Regions from separate parts of the Homo sapiens genome. Here region 1 is linked to region 2. The links are contacts of gene promoters, found by promoter capture Hi-C in blood cells and fetal thymus (Javierre and others, 2016). All regions are on one chromosome and are shown on one strand. The core of a region is centred on a gene start or on the middle of the fragment in contact, and the rest is flanking DNA. Distances in the headings are between cores, read along the strand shown. Region 1 holds the start of LOC124906008 (a long non-coding RNA gene). Region 2 holds the start of CFAP36 (cilia and flagella associated protein 36).

The links. The method cuts DNA at HindIII sites, captures the fragments that hold promoters and counts their contacts. A CHiCAGO score of 5 or more calls a contact.
Region 1: a contact is called between a fragment that was not itself captured here and the fragment with the promoter of CFAP36 in region 2, in 1 of 17 cell types (neutrophils). The highest score is 5.2, in neutrophils.

Annotation. Positions count from the first base shown.
Region 1 is chr2:54,586,938-54,592,239 of GRCh38, reverse strand. The region is part of intron 2 of SPTBN1 (spectrin beta, non-erythrocytic 1); the gene reads right to left. It overlaps LOC124906008 (a long non-coding RNA gene), which reads left to right and starts at 2,806. Exons shown (of 3, transcript XR_007086322.1): 1 at 2,806-5,302. RefSeq lists an enhancer at 2,576-2,625. The HindIII fragment of the contact is 8,072 bases long and covers 1-5,302 here.
Region 2 is chr2:55,518,468-55,523,611 of GRCh38, reverse strand. CFAP36 (cilia and flagella associated protein 36) reads right to left here and starts at 3,894. Exons shown (of 10, transcript NM_080667.7): 1 at 3,696-3,894; 2 at 1,446-1,510. The coding sequence starts at 3,810. RefSeq lists enhancers at 3,114-3,363, 4,544-4,593. The HindIII fragment of the contact is 7,670 bases long and covers 2,043-5,144 here.

The DNA.
Region 1 (5,302 bases), core at 1,728-4,227, 930 kb after region 2:
ATAAATACTGAAAGGCTGTAATGCGTCTATGTAATTTTTTAATTTATATTTTTAAATTAATTAACCAATGAATATATTAGAGAAGGAGTCTGTCACCCCAGCTAGAGTGTAGTGGTGTGATCACAGCTCACTGTAATTTTGGACTCCTGGGCTGAAGCAATCTTCCCACCTCAACCTCCAGAGTAACTAGGATTACAGGCATGCACCATCACACCTGGCTTTTTCATTTTTTTTTGTAGAAATAGGGTCTCATTAGATTGCCCAGGCTGACCTCAAACTCCTGGTCTCCAGTGATCCTCCCACCTTAGCCTCCCAAAGTGAATTACAGGTGTGGGCCACTGCACCCAGCCCCATATTTATTTACTCTAGAGAATTTGCTATAACTGAAAAAATGAACACTGTGTTAGCGTGAGTCAAGTTAGGATACAGAAATAGCTTTGATGAGCAGAAGGGCACTGCATGATGGAAATGATTGTACGGCATCTTTCTGCAATACCCTCAGCACAGAGTGCTAAACACAACTATATTCACCATATGCCACAGTTCTGGTTATGGAAAGGGATGGGAGCCAGGAATGAAGGAAAGCCTGAAGGCATGGAACATCTCCGGATGGAAAAAAAAGGAAACATAGAATCAGGAACTGTCAAAAGACCCTATTCATTGTTCCCCTAAAGACTGAATTTATACCTGGCTTAAGAGAAGGAATCTTTCTTTTACTTTTCAAGTAGTCTGAACCTGCACGTATAACCCAGTAATATTTTCTATCAGGCTCTTCAATTGTGCTAAGATAATGGCCTACCCCCTAAGTAAGAGACAGCAATCATGTAGTTTTTGCTTTGCACAGACATATAGTTAAGTTAGGTGTAGTCTTGGGTTCAAAGTAAGAAAGAAAGGAATTACAGGGATGGAAGTTAAGAAGAAATCAAAAGGGGAGGAAGCAATCATCCCATGAACATATCCCCACTATTTAAATCAATAATACTGTGTTAGCTGACTAATCTGAAATTGAGAGTATTAGTGAGCTCCAATATTACAAAGTGCATACTTTACCTAGAACTCTGTGTCTAAGATAAAGTCTCTTACCCTCAATGAACTAGAAATCTAGCTGGGGATACAAAATAAAAAGTTAAAAAATAACAAAAAGACATTACAAAGAAGTACAAGATCAGTTGCTAAGAGAATAATTTTGACAATCTATTTTTGCGTGTTTTGAACAAAGCTCACCACAATTTGGGTGGTTTCAGACCCCAACTGAACTCCCCTGCCTTGGGCCTCTCTCCGCATTCTAATCCACCTTAAACATCACTACCATAGCCATGTTCCTCAATCAGTGGTTTTTCAAAGTTGCAGCACTGCACCAAAACCTTCAACGGACCCCAGCTATCCAGAAGACAGTCCAAATCTCTGAACCTGGCATTTAAAGGTCCCAAACGGGCTCTCCTAAGGCATCAGCTTCATCTGGGAACTTCCCTGACATGCCGTCTTTTGTTCCAACCTAACAGGTCTTACTCTCATGCTCTGAACTCTCACCTTGCACACTGCTTTTTCCCATCTTTGCTTCTATCATTCTTCTAACCTAGAAGGCAGTTTTCTCTTACCCTTCCTTTAAGATCCAGCCAAGATTAGTTCTACCAAGAGGCCCTCTCCTATCAGATGTCAGCAATCATCATTTGATGGGATGTGGTCTCTCATCTTTTATTATACGTCTTGTGTCCTATCTCTTCAATTAACTTGCAGTTGGCTCAGAGGCAAAGGCTCAATCCTATTCATGTTTAGAGCTTTAGCATATACATGACATAAAGGAGGTGCACAATAAACATTTGTTCAATGAGTCAGCAAACCTCCAGTGTCCAACAACTAGGTTCTCGATAAATCTTATTGTTGGTGGTGGTCTCACTGAAATTGTTGAGGAGGGAAATTTCATATCACAAAGACAGGCCCTAGGCAGTTAAATGTTGTCATTGTATAGCACTAAAAATATATGACAGGTGAACTGCTTCTTGCAATTCCTCAATGTCTGAAATACGGATAAAAATGCAATTTTGTGGTGCTGTCATTCAGACTAAAATGGGTCCAGAGCCAAACTAAAATGTTTGACAAATTCTGTTTTTTGTTTGCTTGTTTTATCTTTGGGCAATTGCCACCACATACCTGTACGGTAAAGTGAAGTTGCAAAATACACAACGGTGTGATTAGGACATCATTGTAACATATTACAACATTATTTAAACATGACCCAATCAGGTCAATTGTCACAAGACTTAATTTGTTGCAACTTTAACAATTTATATATTAAAGTTTAATTCTTGAACTGTTTTAAAATAAAGAATAAAAAAGGATCTTAACTCAAAACAAAAGAATAGTGGTAGGGTGGAGTCCCCCTATATGCCTTAGCTTGAAAAAATAAATAAATCATTTCCCATGAGTAACATGCAAAATACACAGAGCAGGAAGCCGGAAACAGGCAGCTGGCTGTATTGATAACAGAGAATCCAACTGTTATCTTGAGGCAGCAACAGGAAGGAAACTAATCTTTTGACTGAAGTCCTCCCTGTGACGGACTAGTCTGAAGGCCTTAAATTCATGTTTGCTGATTTGTATAAAAATAGAATTTGAGTTACAATAGTTTCCTTAACTGTTTAACTTGCATCATGGACAAAACACATGTAAATATTTGCTCTAAATGCATGTGAAGCAAATATGCAATTGTCTGCTAGTAACTGTCTGATGGGCCGACTACAAAACCCACCATGAGCTCTCTATGACCTGGCACCTACAGGTTGCATCTGCTGGGCAGTCCCTCCTGCAGCTTCCAGAGGGCCTTTCTTCTGAGCGGCACAACCCCAGTTTGCCAATGTGGAGACCAAGGCACTGCAGGCACAACTTCTGAGAGGAGACCCACAATAACTGAGAAATGAGGCTCTGTCACCAGGGTCCTGCCTCTGTCACAGTCGTACGTCAAGGTGAGCCGCATAAAGTCACAATCCATAAGAAGCCAAGACTCTGGAGGGAGCTGAGGTTATGATGGGGGCTTTCTCCGAAAATAAGAGGCAAAGCAACACAACTACCTCTTCTAAGATGAGAGCTAAGGTGGGAACCAGTGTGAATTAATCAATAATAAGTTAATTGTACATTTAAAGATAACTAAGAGTATAATTGGATTGTTTGTAACACAAAAGATAAATGCTTGAGGGGATGGATATCCCATTCTCCACGATGTGATTATTAAGCATCACATACCTATATTAAAACATCACATACCCCATAAATATATACATCTACTATGTATCCACAAAAGTTAAAAATATTTTTTAAAAAACAAAACAAAAAAAACCAATAGTGTAAGGTGCCAAAACCAGGTGGAAAAAGCAAATGTAAAAAAACAGAATTAGGACCTTGTGATAAAATTCTCAGTAACTGTTCACTGTGTTTGACTAAAAATGGGTAGCATGCTTCCAAACTGCTTTCACATACAGGAAGTCATATCCTGAGCCCATTAACCTGCTACTCTCCATCTCTACAGGATGGGAACTGCAGTCAGGGTGACTGATCAGTTAGGGCAAAGGCTGAAGTAAGCCCAGGTGTGCACTAGTGATGCTGCATTAGGATCTTCACTCACTTTCCCTCCTTCATTACAGCCTGTGATTTCTAACTAACTGAGGTGGCTGAGGCACAGACTGGTTTTGGGATCCCCCCGAGGGCATGCTGCTAGCAAATAAACACCCAGAATTAGAGCCCACATTTATCTGAACCCTACAGAATCCCAAAGCACCTGAGGCACTCCATCCCACACAGGGAGTGTGGGATGGTATCTATTTAGTTCCAACCACCATCCCACACTGCCTGAGGAAAACAAGACATCACCTCCCCAAAACAAGAAGAAAAAACTCATAACCATCCATGTCTGGTCAGTTCCTTCAGACTGAGTTAAAAGATTAATATAAAATAGGAGTCAGCAAACTTCAGCCAGTAGCCTCTTTTTATGTAGCCTGGGAGACACACAGGTTTTACATTTTAAGAGGGTGGTTAAAAGGAGGAGGAAGAGGAAGGGGAGGAGGCTGATGATACCCCATAGAGACTCCATGTGGCCCACAAAGCCTAACAGTTATTATCTGGTCCTTTATAGAAAAAGTTTGGCATGTCCTGGTTTAAAACATTTCAATATAATAATACTGTTGATCCCACATCCCATTTGTTAGACTCCACTTCAAATTAAAATCAGCTTAGCAAATAGGTACTAAGTGCTTGCTATGAGCAAGGCACCACACTGGGTACTATTTTAAATTTTGCTATTGAATATGTTGCCAGGTTAATGCTCAGTAGCCACAAGCATTTTCTGGTAAGTGATATCCACATGTCAGGTCAGTCACAGGGTGAACTCGGGGCCCCTTCCACTCCCCAGCGGAGTGGGTATTTATCTGGTTACCTTCACTTACGGGATGGAGTGTGCCACCCCATTTGGCAGGAGGGACAAACTATGGTAATCACCACAGGCTAGACCTCAAGGCTGCACCCTCACCTTCAAAGGATGAGAAGGGTGGAACAGCTTGAGGCCTGATCTTCCAACTTTCCAGCCCTCCCCACAAGCTGAAGGCTCTTCAGCTCTTATTTTGATGGACACTTCATACACCATCACCTCTTCTCCTCCAGTCCTCCATGGAAGGGGACTTCAATCCAAGGTGGGCTGAGGGTAACTTGCAATGCCCTTAAAAGTTAGGAAAAACTTAGAACTAAATAGATACCATACACTTAATTACTAAACAACACAGAACGGCAGAACTTAACACAGAATGGCAGAACGTTAACACGAATACAGACTAAGTAGAAAAGAATGTTTTAAAGCGCACCAACCGTAACAGGCACACTCAAGACTTCATGAAAGTAGTATAATTGCAACATATGGAGAAGGGAGATGTCTGTGTGATATTCTTCCTAAGGAACATTAAAGAAGCAGTAAATATTACATTCTATACTAGTCTACCATGTGGCACACAAATTCACCAGTAAAGATAAAATCCTCTACTTCATTTTCAAGGGCTAAAGGTAGGCTTTTGTTGTAGGAGCCTTGGATAAAGCAGAGGTATTGAGAGAGAATTCAAATTTGTGATGTTTCTTATTTCATGCAATATACACAAAAAGTAGCCTTAATGTTCTACGGGGCGTGTAAGCTAGTCAGAGGTAGTTTATTAAAAAATCAAATAACATGCTCCCCGGCCCTTGCTTATTATGGTTTTCAATCTACTCCAGGTTTCCGGAATCCTTAAGGCCAAAATAATTAAGGGCAAAGAGGGAAAAATAGAAC
Region 2 (5,144 bases), core at 2,645-5,144:
AATCTACATATTACATGACAGTGACATTGTCTTTCACCAAAACACAAATTAAAAGTTAATATTTTTGCTGAAAATCACATGAAATTGTATTTCTTCTAATAGAAATAGTTGAAGTCAGGATTATGAAGTTCAATGTGGTACAACTCTTCTGCTACCCAGAGGCATTTTTTTTTCTTCTTTTCTTTTCTTTCTTTTTTGAGATGGAGTCTCACTCTGTCACCCAGGCTGGAGTGCAGTGGTACGATCTCGGCTCACTGCAACCTCTGCCTCCCAGGCTCAAGCAATTCTCCTGCCTCAGCTTCCTGAGTAGCTGGGACTAGAGGCGCCTGCCACAATGCCCGACTAATTTTTTTTTTTTTTTTTGGTAGAGATGGCGTTGCACCATGTTGGTCAGGCTGGTCTCGAATTCCTGACCTCAGGTGATCCGCCTGCCCTGGCCTCCCAAAGTGCTGGGATTATAGGCATGAGCCACCACGCCTGGCCTTTTCTTTCTTTCTTTCTTTTTTTTTTTTTTGAGACAGAGTCTTACTCTGTTGTCCAGACTGGAGTACAGTGGCACAGTAATGGCTCACTGCAGCCTTGACCTTCTGGGCTCAAGAGATCATCCTCCCACTTCAGCCTCCCAAGCAACTGGGACTACAGGCACATGCCATCATGACTGATTAATTTTTGTAATTTTTATAAAGATGGAGTTTCACCATGTTGCCCAGGCTGGTCTCGAACTCCTTGGCTGAAGCAATCCACCTGCCTTGGCCTCCAAAGTGCTGGGATTATAGGTGTGAGCCACTGAGCCCCACTGCCAGAGGCATTTTTTAAAATCACAAGACAGGCTGGGCAGTGGCTCACACCTGTAAACCCAACACTTTGGGAGGCCCAGGCAGGTGGATCACTTGAGCTCTGGAGTTCCACACCAGCCTGGGAAACACAGAGAAACGCCATCTCTACAAAATACAAAAAAATTAGCAGGGCATGGTGGTGCACACCTGTAGTCCCAGCTACTCAGGTGGCTGAGATGGGAGGATCGCTTGAGCCTGGGGAGGTTGAGGCTGCAATAGGCTGTGATAGTGCCACTGCACTCCAGCCTGGGTGACAGAGCAAGACCCTGTCTCAAAAATAAAAAATAAAAAAATCACATGACAACCATGACGAAGTGAATAATTAATATGTCCCTGGATGCGTCAACAAAATAAGAATAAGATATAAAGAATACATGCAAGAACCCATAAAGAGTTGTAAAACCATTCCTTAGAGTAGAGGAGATAAGTCATCCAAATGAGATATTCAGAGCACCTGTGGAGACAGATATAACTGGCACTATTGTTAAGGTAGATTGGATTTTTGTAAAATTAAGGATTTTTAATGTAAAAATATTTTTCTTCATTTAGAAAAGCTATAAGTAGTATTAGCCTAATTACTTTTAAAAATCAGTGAAAAAAAATACTCACTAGTTCTTTGTATTCCTGATGAATCTCTGTATAGGTCAATTTGCTTTCTTCTTCATCATCAAAAACTAAATTTAAAAGAAAATATTACATAGTGTAAAAACCAAATCATTTTATTAATGCAAATTTAAAAATCCACTCCTTCCAAATAGAACTGTCAACCTAGCTCTTCAGCTTTGAATTCTTAGGGTTTATCTTTTAAAAATATATAAATGAATATATCTAAAAATATATACTATTGGCCGAGCACTGTGGCTCATGCCTGTAATCCCAGCACTTTCGGAGGCCAAGGTGGGTGGATCACCTACGATCAGGAGTTCGAGACCAGCCTGGCTGATGTGGTGAAATCCCATCTCTACTAAAAATACAAAAATCAGCCAGGCGTGGTTGTGCGCGCCTGTAGACCCAGCTACTCGGGAGGCTGAGGCAAGAGAATTGCTTGAACCCAGGAGGCGGAGGTTGCAGTGAGCCAAGATTGCACCACTGCACTCCAGCCTGGGCGGCAGAGTGAGACTCCATCTCAAAAAAAAAAAAGAAAAAAAAATATACACACACACACACACACACACACACATATATACTATTAATTGTAAACAAGCTTTTTTGCCTACTTGAGAAAATATTTAAAATGAATACTACCTCATATTTAAGACAAAAACACATTTCAATCAATATGAGGCAATAATTTCTTCATAACTTTTAATGTAATATTATTGTTAATGGTTAAATCCTTTTACAATAGGTTCCATATTATTTTATTGTACTGGAATTTTGCTGATGTAAATGTTACTGAAAGTGACCAGGCAATTTTTGTTACCACAGATAAATAATGAAGTTAAATAAAATCAAAACAAGTGTTTACTGAATGATCATATGTATAAAACAATGCAGTGAGCCAAGATCACGCCACTGCACTCCAGCCTGGGCAACAGAGCGACACTCTGTCTCCCAAAAAAAAAAAAAAAAAAGGAGTACAAATACAAGTTATTTTGTTTTTGAACATTGTTAAAAAATTACCTGTAAAAATAACACTTTAATAACTACGATTTGAATATTGATTATAGCAATGAAAATGTAATGAAAAGATTCAGTGGTCAAACTGAATTTCATCTTTACCAGATTCATGATATCTTGGAATTTAAAGAAGTCTTAAAAGGTCATCCAGGATAACCGACCATTTGATAGCTGAATAGCTGAATCCCTCTAACCCTATTAAGTCGCTATCAGATCCATTCAAACACTGCTGGAGCCGGGAAGCTCATTACCTTCTGAGGCTGGCTAACTCATCTTGGATACATTCTATCATGAAACACTTCCTTCACTGAAATTTGTTTCCCTGTAGCTTGTACCAACTGACCCTAGCTCTATTCTACTCAACCTTACAACACAAAGCAGATGTTCAAATAATTGATGAATACTACTACCCTCAAAGTCTTGCCCGATTAAACAACCACAATAACGCTTGGGCACTCATTTATATGACGTGGTTTCTGGTTCCTTTTCTGCGAATGGGCTGCAAATAGTCTCCACGAACTGAATGCAGAACTCCAAGCCTGAAGAACTGCTCAGAACCCGGAGATGCCTGTCCTTCACGGGGAATATTATGCCATATCTATACGCCTCATTTGTTCCAAGAATGGTCCTGCCCCACCTCGCCAATTTTTGGTATAGCGAAGAGTAGAGAGCTCACCAAGGGGAACACAGGCCACCAAAATCACCGGCTCTGGGCTTCCTGGAGTTATCACATGCCCTCCTTTGCAGTTAACTGTTGGTTTGGAGTGAAATCATTTCTCATTTCCTAAGCTGACTACACCGGGCGAAATGCTAGGGATCATAAGGAACTCAGGTAAACCGACGCTTCTCCTCTCAAGTCTGGCAAAGCTGTTGAAGAAGCCCAGCCAAACAGTCCACCTGCCGAGGGCAGAAACGTTCGGGACAGGGTGAGAGACCGAATTTACGATTCAAGTCTAATGTTCTTCGGACGTGCGCTTCGGCCCCAGAGAAGGGGAGTCTCGGTCCCCGTTTTCAGGTCTGCGAAGGAACACATTGGCAGGGTGAAAGGAATTCCTCCCACACAACCAGCTCTAAACCTGATGACGCGGGTGGAGAAGGTGGTGAGGGGAACGAGACCTTGCGACAGGGGTGGAGACAGGGGGTCGGGGAGACGAGAGATGGCTTGTGGTTACCAACCCCCTGCCCGCCGCTGGTGTGAGAGAGGAGAAAAGGATTGTCGGTTCGGGCTCTGGTTTTTACCTTCACATTTCTGTTCCACAAAGTCCAAGATGGGGATGGACCAGTCTGGGCCTCGCAGGAACCCCGCGATGCTCTCCACTACCCACTCCACCTCGTCTTCTTCTTCCGCAGCCATCCCGCCCCAAAGGGGCAACGGGGAAGATCCCTAGGCCAGACCGCCGGACCCCGGTTAGGCCTTTGGGCCACAAGGAGCCGAGAGGGAGTAGGGGAAGAGCTGGCCCGCAGTCGCTCAGCCCCCAGGATAGAAGCTACCAACCAGTTAATGCAAAATGGTCGCTATGGCAACACACGTAGCCGCCCTAGACCGCGGCCCGGAAGTGAAGACAACTTTCCAGGAGCCTGCGCACTTAGCGGGGAGGGCAAACGTTTGAAAAACGTTTCTGATTGGTTAAAAAAGAACAGTGGACGAGGGCTGAGAAAAGAAGTGTAGCTATTGGCTGGAAGTCATAGACAGATTGCGCTCTCTCTTCTGATAAATGCGTAGGAGCCAAGGTTTAGAAAACGCGCAGTAGACGGGCGCGGTGGCTCACGCCTGTAATTCCAGCACTTTGGGAGGCCGAGGCTTGCGGATCACCTGAGGTCAGGAGGTCGAGACCAGCTTGGCCAACATGGTGAAACCTCGTCTCTACCAAAAATACAAAAATTAGCCTGGCGTGGTGGCGCCGCCTGTAATCCCAGGTACTCGGGAGGCTGAGGCAGGAGAATCGCTTGAACCCGGGAAGCCGAGGTTGCAGTGAGCCACTGCACTGCAGCCTGGGAGACTGCGTCTCAAAAGAAAAACAGGAAGAAAGAAAAGAAAAAAGAAAAGGCTCAGTGAGGGTCTGAGGTAACCGGGTCTCCACCTGACAGGGCTTCAGCGGCTGCAGTTCATCATTGTATCCCCAGCACCTCAGTCCCAACCATTTTCAGACCATTGGCCCAGAGGCGTTTGTAATTAAAGGGTTGTCTGAAAATACAAAGCCGAGCTGTGTGAGACTCGCTGATTGTCTTACGGTCAGTTTGCATCTGTATCTTCAGGCGGGTCTTTAATCTCTTACGCTTGGATAAAGATAACTAGAATTAGGAGCTTTTCAAGGGCAAGAGCAAAGTTAATACTCACTTAAATAAATGCCTTGGTAACCAAATCTTATTATAACTCCAACTCAGCATTTAGGTGGAGTCCATTGTGGAATGGGGTCTTCAGTGGTCATTGTGAAGGTGTTTGGAGTCCCAAAATATCTTCAGACAACCATATATATATATATATTTTTTACATAAATAGGATTATATGTACAGTTATGAATTTTTTTCTTATATCTTTATCTTTTAAAAATATAAATTTGTGCTTTCTTTGCAACTGCATAGTATTCCATAAACCATCCTTTAGTCTATTTTTATTTTGTGAATGTGCACACAGTATCTTACCTGAATGCATGAAGATGATCATTATGTGCCTTTTTTTTTTTTTTT